Linked DNA regions of Homo sapiens: region 1 is linked to region 2. The links are contacts of gene promoters, found by promoter capture Hi-C in blood cells and fetal thymus (Javierre and others, 2016). All regions are on one chromosome and are shown on one strand. The core of a region is centred on a gene start or on the middle of the fragment in contact, and the rest is flanking DNA. Distances in the headings are between cores, read along the strand shown. Region 1 has its middle 120 kb from the start of SNX7. Region 2 holds the start of PALMD (palmdelphin).

Evidence for each region. The method cuts DNA at HindIII sites, captures the fragments that hold promoters and counts their contacts. A CHiCAGO score of 5 or more calls a contact.
Region 1: a fragment that was not itself captured here is called in contact with the fragment with the promoter of PALMD in region 2 in 6 of 17 cell types (naive CD8 T cells, naive CD4 T cells, total CD4 T cells and 3 more); the score reaches 7.6 in naive CD8 T cells.

The regions. Positions count from the first base shown.
Region 1 is chr1:98,777,956-98,782,543 of GRCh38, forward strand. No RefSeq gene overlaps it. Among named protein-coding and RNA genes, the nearest start is that of SNX7, 120 kb to the left of the region's middle. The HindIII fragment of the contact is 205 bases long and covers 2,356-2,560 here.
Region 2 is chr1:99,643,756-99,647,880 of GRCh38, forward strand. It overlaps PALMD (palmdelphin), which reads left to right and starts at 2,358. Exons shown (of 8, transcript NM_017734.5): 1 at 2,358-2,607. The coding sequence starts at 2,563. The HindIII fragment of the contact is 18,161 bases long and covers 1-4,125 here.

The DNA.
Region 1 (4,588 bases), core at 1,208-3,707, 870 kb before region 2:
TTTATTCTAATAGTTATTTTACACCTGGCTATTAGATACTATTGTGATATTTAGTCTAGAGCAAATATGGATATATAGTTCCAAGAATCAAATGCATTTTATATTCCTTTCTGTGTCCTTCTTTTAGGATGATGTAAATACTCTTGTCCTTGATGAGGATTACTGTACAATCGTGGAAATATTAACAATCAGATAGAGAGAACAACTTTATTACAGATTTGGCACAGTTAATTTATTCCTTTTAGCATTCAGAAATCCTTCATAAAAGTAGATAACAAAGAGTCTAATGTATAATCTTGTTGTGAGTGGGTGGTTATGCATTGAGATATCTGACACCCAGTTGTTAGAAGATCAGAAAAATGCAAAACCCAACTGAAAATTTAATTGTGTTTTCTTGTCACATGTGGCTCAGCAGAAAAAGGGAGGCACACTGTGCAGGGAACACTCTTTCTGAAAGCTGAGAGCCATTCATTTTGCACCATGTCCAAACAAATCTTATGGAGAAGAATAAATTTGTTTATATCATGCTCACCTTCATTCAATAATTTAATAATTCATTCACTCAAAGTTCTTTAAACAGAAATAAGAGAAACATAATTTATATAAGTGATTACTATTCCAACATACATTGACTCTAGTTCTAGTACAGGAAGCAAAGAGACACTTGACTGAATTAATTCAGTGATTCTCACTTTTCTCTTTTACCATTTCATTCTCTCCTATTACACTGCTACATTGAGTTTTCAGGAGCTGTTACCAACAAGCCACACGGCTCCCAGCCCTTCTTTGAATCCAGCTTGTTTGAGGAAAAAGAGGATGTGAAGAGGGTAAAGAAGTGCAGAAAGACATTTTTCCCAATTCCACATTTTTTTTTTTTTGAAATGGAATTTTGCTCTTGTAGCCCAGGCTGGAATGCAGTGGCACGATCTCAGCTCACAGCAACCTCCGCCTCCTGGGTTCAAACGATTCTCCTACCTCAGCCTCCCAAGTAGCTGGGATTACAGGTGCGAGCCACCACGCCTGGCTAATTTTTGTATTTTTAGTAGATATGGGGTATCAGCATGTTGGCCAGGCTGGTCTCGAACTCCTGACCTCAGGTCTCAAACTCCCGCCTAGCTTGGCCTCTCAAAGTGCTGGTATTACAGGCATGAGCCACCACACCCAGTCCCAACTCCAGAATCTTATGGGTCATTGCCATCACCATTAGACTGGCATTGAAGCTCCATTGACACTATATTTTCAAGCCCACAGTCCTTTGAGAAACCTGTGACCCCAGATAAATATGAAAGAGAAGTTTGTAATAATATGGTGTTGATTTCATTATGATGTGTTTACAATACTTCACACTTGATGTGTGACAATTTTTTCCACGGCTGCCTCAATAACTTTGTAATCTATAAAAATGTCATTTCCCCCCATTGTGAATCTAGAGTAAAATAAGGGTCTACCAGACAACAATGCTCTTCCAGGTAAAGAAACATAGGAGATGAGCAATGCTATTTTATTGTGACAACGGATAATATTTTTTGACAGATACTGGGTTAAGCATCTTACATGTGATTATTCCTTCTCAGTATTATGAAACTGGAACAATTATTGTATTTATTCACATAAGGAAAGTAAGCCTTGGAGAAGTGAAATAGCTCATACAATTTCACAAAACAATCAGTGTGATTCACACCTAAGTCAGTGCTCTCAACCATGCCCCTAAGTTCCCTTCCCCAGTCTAAGAAATCAAGAATTTATTTTGGAAGCATCAGTCACTTTATGTTTCTCTGAAACATTAGATCTACAGTGATGGGAAGCAGTGGAGCTTTCTCAGCGAAGTCCCTTGGAAGATAGAAAGAGTGCCAGCCACACTATGTAGAGGCAGAAAGAAGCACTGCGTGCTGCCAGCGACAGCCAGCCTCCCTCACCTTTAGAAACCCTGTTGAACCTCAGGGAAGGGGAACTATCAGTGTCCACAAATTTGGTGATCTACCTGGTAAGTCTTTGAGAACTGCTAACAATCAGTCTGTTTGGGTGGACTTTTATCCTGTGTTCATGTGAAGTCGCTTCACTTCCTAGAATATCTGCAAAATTAGGGAATATGAGCTGGCTGTTTCACTATTTTCTAACTCTAAAGTTAATTGGATCTATGAGATATCACATTTGGATAGTCATTTACCCTCACCTTTACCTCAGCCCTCATTTTATATCATGATATTTCTTTTCTAATGCTCAGTCCGGCCTGCATTCTTCTTTCTTAGCAAAATCATTCAGAGTTAGGAAAGAAACTAAACTAGTGAATGTGCAATTGTCAACTCAGCTTTAAACTACAAGATTTCAAAGAAACTATACTATTCTTCCCAGTTAAGCTTTGTCTAAATCTCTTAATCCCCCAAATAACATCCTAAGCAAAAACCTCCGTTCTTACTTTTAGGAAGAAGTTTTAAGCAGGTCTATTGGTAACTGTAACGCTTACTGACTTTTCAGTGACAAGAAGTGCTGAGGTATACCTTGTAAATCTAGCATGAATATACTAATCTATTTATTGAATGCCATTTGAGGTTTCTGTTTAAGCTTTTCAGTGGTCCTTGGGTAAAGATTGGGCCAGTTTCTTGCTGGTGTGTGTTTAATTTAGTTATAACAGGTGTTCTATTTATTGTGTAAATGGGATAATTCTAAGTTCTCGCTGTGATTTCCTCTCATTTACTATTATGTCTATAATACATGCCATGGACAATTTGCAAGTACCCAGCATCATTTCTCTAATGACATACACACCTTAGATTTAAGGAGATTAATACTATTGTAACTTCAAAGTCCTTTGATGAAAAACAGCATAATTATGGGATAAAAAATATTCACAAATGTTTTCTTAGTTCTTTCTAGTACCCTTAGCACCCAGCATGAGACTACTATTCCAGATTCATGTTATAGCTCCACATACAGCCAATTCAACCATTTTTGAATAAGCAATCTGCCAGTTTCATACTATGTAATGATCCAACCAATTTAACTGAATTTTCAGGGATTTTGAACAACCAAGCAGTCAATTCAGGCCAAATAGCTCATTTTACCTGCAGGTATAGTCTAAGCAACTGATTTGAAGGTTTATAAGTTAGTAAGTTTTCTCCACACAAAAATTATGTGTTATTAGAAAATATTGCCATTGCTTTACTGTGCTTTTAAAAAATATTCAAATATTTTTCTAAAATTAAGTTTGCAGAGAAGTATCCTAAATTTCAAAAAAGAATAAAATGTAAAACCAATAGTTTCTGAATTTATCTCTATAGTCTATTGAGAACAGCTTTAAGTTGGCAATGAAAAATCAAAATTAATATCTAGTGCTTTAATAAACATAGCTACTCAAGAATAGTATTAAAATATTAATTTTAAAAGGCAATTTTTCAAAAGATAAAGTGAGAAATATTTATTCAAAGCAATGCTCCTTAACAACAACAACAAAAAACAATTCTGGTTGAAGCCATCATTTTTTTTGTTTTGTTTTTGTTTTGAGGTTTTCTTATGTGAAGTATTTTACAAAGGAAGATTTGGGTCTACATGGTTGGTTAGACGTAACAGTTGCTATGGGAATATTTTATTCATTATTTAGAATTCTGAGACTTACGAAGTTATCATTTAGAAGAAAAATGAATGCACTTAGGGACATACACTTCACCCAACCTGAAAAATAAACAAATTGACAAAATATATGAAACAAAAGTTATCAAAACACTAGCATCAAGCAATGTAGGACAATGATCTCTGAGAGACAGGGGAAAATGATGTGAGCCCTGTTATTTCCCTATCTTATTGCCTTCAAGAGTGTTTCAGGACATAGTATAGGGATGCAGAATCTAGGCAGAGCCGGGCCAATTCTCTGAGTTGAAGAGACAGAGCTGAGAGTATGTGGGATAGTCTGCTGGAGAAGAGAGGGCTTCACAGAGAGAGAACTCCAGAGGTCAACAGCAAGCCCCTCCATGTCTTTAGCAGAGTGCTACTGAGTGCCCATGTATGAGGAGACCACCCAAGGACAGAGGAAAAAACTGACTAAATAGACTAAAAGTGACATTGCCTAGAAGTGACTCAAGGCTGGACATATCACCCATTCCCACCGGCCAAACTGGAAAAATCTCATGTTTCATGGAACACTGGGTAAAGCACACTGACCTGTCTTCAATAGTAGGAAATAATTAAGCTAAAACACCTTTCCAGTCACGCATAACAAACCTTAAAAGGAAGCTCCAACAGTATCCAAATAAATTACTCATGTATCAAGAACAAAGCTCAAGAATATCTATAGGAATCCAAAAACATTTAACATCCAACAAAGTAAAGTTTGCAATGTCAGGAATTCAATAAAATATTATAAACTGGCAAGATAGTACAAAAATATGATTTATAATGAGAGGAAATATCAACTGAAAACCACAACTGACTTAGACATTACAATTAGCAAATAAAGACATAAAACAGTTATATAACTATTATATATGTTCAAATATTAAGTATAGAAATGGAATTTATAAGAAAGACAAAAATGGAATTTCTAGAAAGGAAAACTAAAATGTGTGAGGGGAATGATATATTGGATGGGATTAAT
Region 2 (4,125 bases), core at 1,108-3,607:
CTGTGTTAGGTGTCTGAACAAAATTTCTCCTCTCCTGGAACTTACATTCTGGTAGACAATAAAAGATTAAGTAAACAAAATACAGTAGATGTGGAAATGATGATGTTATTCTGGATCCTATAAGAAACAAATGCCAAGATGGGTTAAATGTACAGAATTTTATTAGGAGAAATGACTGTATGAGAGAACATGGGAGGACAGGCAGAAAAGGCTGGAGCTGGACATGTCTAAGAGGCAGGTGAAAGAGAAAGGGAGGCGAAGTTGAGTGGAAACATCCTAATCTGTATTGCAGTCCAAGGGAGATTGTCAAGACCATCAGAGCTCTGGCTCCAGGATTCCACTCAGGTCCCCCAGATTTTCCCAGCTCCAGCCTTTTCTGCCTACCACTCACATGATGATACCAATCAGTTGTTGCAACTCTGCTCCCTCCTAAATTCCCATCCTCTTTTTTTAAATCTTGTCCTCCCCTACACTAGCAAAATCTTGGGTTTTCCTCTAGCAGAAATGAGATTTGAGAGGTAAATTGTTTTTAGGAAAAGATCCAGACTAATAATTGGATGACTGCCCATTTGTTCTAGGCACCAAATATGCAATTCTGACTGAGATATTTATCATTACTGCTTTCTTGTCTTTAATTTCAGCCAGGATCTACAAATAAACATAATCAGAAGTCTTGAAGGTTTGATTTTTTTTACACTTAAATATGTTTCCAACAGTAATCAAACTTGGCACACATCCAAACAATCCTCCCATTCTCTGGTCTCCCTAAGTATCCCTTCTGAGGGTGTATGAGCAAGGACAAACTACTCTCAAGTATAATTTCAGACTCTTAAAACATGGGTTTCACCTTATAGTGACTGACAGAATGAGGGCTCTGTGGTTGGGGAACTCCAGTCAACAATGTGGGGAAACCTCAGTAGGGCCAATAAGTTTCTCCAGAGGACATTCCCACACCGTTCTGCCTTAGGCTGTTACACCCAGCTGTAGTGTTCTAGGAGCTAGACAGAGAAGGAGGCTGGGGGTCCAACCACTTCTCATAAAGACTGACTTAACCTTCAGCCTGTGCCTCTCCTTGCCCCGTGTCCTTGGGCAGTCCTTGATGAATGCCACTTATAAAGTCAGGCAGCTGGTGTTCCAATCCTGGCTTTGCTACTTACTAGCTATATGGCAAATTACCTCTCTGAGCCTGTTCCCTCATTTTTAAAGTAGGGATTATAGCACTTATCTCTCAGCACTTTGCAAGTATGCATTTACCTGTAGAAAGAATGCAACAAATATTAGCTATTATTATTACTAATATCAAAACTGCAAAGGAAATTAAACCATATGTTCAATGTTTGGGTTGTCCTTTTAACCTCTTCAGCTGAATGTTGATATGAAAGCGCTTAATAGCATTCAAACACATAATAATAAGGTAGTTGGTAATTAGGATTTACTTCAGCAAAATTTAATTAAAGAACCTGTAGGGAAAAGAAAACAGACAGAGCCAATTGTACAGCTTCCCAGCCTCTGCTTTGACCTAAGAGTCTCACTGGGCTTGCCTGCCTTTTTCTAAAGGATGGGCGAATATTCACACAGTGCCGGGCTCCAGGCAGTTACCAAATGTCTCATCACATTTTCAAAGGCTCACTCCTCTCTCTTGCGTAACCGGTGAGGTCAAAATGGGCACCTTCCTGAAAGCCAAGAGTGTCATTTCTGAACAGCGTCCAAGAAAGAAAACTGCATTCCATAGAAATCCAAGTCAAGCAATAACAAAAGGTGGCACTTGGTGCTTAAGCCACACTAAATACCTTGGTGGGCCAACTTCTTAATATAGTCACATTAACACCTTTGATTTCTCCATGACCTAAAGATTCCAAAGTTTGCAACAAAGTGCTGAGCAGGGGGGTCGGGGGTGGGGTGTAGACGGGGGAGAACGAACCAATGTAAATTTACCACTACATGAAGTTTAAAGTAGCTATAGATTGTTGTATTATTATCAAATCCAATCAGTGGAAGAAAGGCAAACAAGTGACTTGGCACTTCTGCCTCAGTCAAGGTAAGGCTCTCTCCCCTAGAGCTAGCAAGCAGGTAAACGAGCTTTGTACAAACACACACAGACCAACACATCCGGGGATGGCTGTGTGTTGCTAGAGCAGAGGCTGATTAAACACTCAGTGTGTTGGCTCTCTGTGCCACTCCTGGAAAATAATGAATTGGGTAAGGAACAGTTAATAAGAAAATGTGCCTTGCTAACTGTGCACATTACAACAAAGAGCTGGCAGCTCCTGAAGGAAAAGGGCTTGTGCCGCTGCCGTTCAAACTTGTCAGTCAACTCATGCCAGCAGCCTCAGCGTCTGCCTCCCCAGCACACCCTCATTACATGTGTCTGTCTGGCCTGATCTGTGCATCTGCTCGGAGACGCTCCTGACAAGTCGGGAATTTCTCTATTTCTCCACTGGTGCAAAGAGCGGATTTCTCCCTGCTTCTCTTCTGTCACCCCCGCTCCTCTCCCCCAGGAGGCTCCTTGATTTATGGTAGCTTTGGACTTGCTTCCCCGTCTGACTGTCCTTGACTTCTAGAATGGAAGAAGCTGAGCTGGTGAAGGGAAGACTCCAGGCCATCACAGTAAGTCTGCATACAGTTATAACTCATTAACGTTGTTACTTAGAGGAAGGCAGACCGTGGCCGGCTGCCCCTGTCGCTGAGCCCTCGCAAGTGGAAAAACAGAACTGTCAGCCTTCATGGACGAGTCTCTGTTTCTCTCTTAACCCTCATGACCCTCTGTAACTCTGGGGCTTCAGAACCTGAGTGCAGGGCAAACGTTCTTGATTTTCAAAAAGGCTGTGCCTGCATTTTAAACAACAATCAAAAGCTGTTAAGGCAGTCTGATTAACTATCTTTCACACTCTGTGGTGTACCTTAGAAATGCAGTTTTTCCTTAAATGTCCATTTGACTGGCATTAGATAAAAAAACAGATCCCCAACTTGGAAACTTTTTTAAGCTATGAATGCCTCAAAAAGTTAGAATTTTTTTTAAAGAGAGAAAAAGAAATTTTAAAAATGACCTGAAACTTTATATTTGTAGTGTGGTAGCATGTTCCAGAAAGCCTAAAATAATTAAAATGAATGTTAATATACGTAATTTAAGCATTAAACAAGAGAAAACTAGGTAAAAGCACGTATCAGATTAATTCTAAGATATCAGTTTCCAGCAGAGTCACAAACTGAATAAGATCCTGATAAAGGAATGCAGTGCATGCAGTGGATTTGGAAAATATTTTGTTAATACCGAGAAGGAAAATCGTACATTTTTTATGTTTGTTCCGGGAAAAAGTCAAAGCCAGAAATAAATTACTTTTCTTAAATGATCCAGCTTTCTTTTTAATTTTATAAAACCCTGTATTTGGCAGTAACTTGGAAATCTGTGTCACAATCATTTATCCCTAGCTATAACTTTTGATGTAATTGTTTTAAGAAGAAAAAGATCTTTGGAAAGCAATATCCCAATTTCTCAGCATTTTCTGCCACTGACATTAGGTATAGGAAAAAAATGAGTACTTTTTAAAAACTGATGCTAGATCAGGGATTTTTTGTTGTTGTTCTTAAAATTTTCATTGCATAACTAATTATGCTAATCCTAATTTAGATTTTTTACTAATTGATACAATATCTTAGTTTCACCCAGGAAACATTCAGTAAATTGAAATGTCTTCTTAGCCAATAGTAAGACACCAGAAGTCTATTGATAAGGTTGGCACTTTTCCATAAAACAATGCTTTGTTAAATGTCTAGCTTCTAATTATTACATTTTCCTCTCTTCAGAAAACCTTGGTCGGGATTATTGTTTGTTTTGTTTTGTCCTTTTTTGTCATTAAACTCAGCCACCATCTCAGCTGTCCTGCTTTAAGGGACAGGAACTCGGCTCTGCTCTGTTGTTTTTGGCATGGGCCTTTTACATTACAGCTGTTGTCTAAAGGTTACTTTATTAGACTGCGTGAGTTGTGTGGTCACAGGCTCCACTATTTCTAATGCTTATATCTCCTAATTAGCTAATTGAAATAGACAAGTAGACCCTTGTTCTGAATTTGCCTCTTTCAGTTGGGGGACACCCTCGCTCAAGCCCTTTTTCCCTCCAGTGTACCT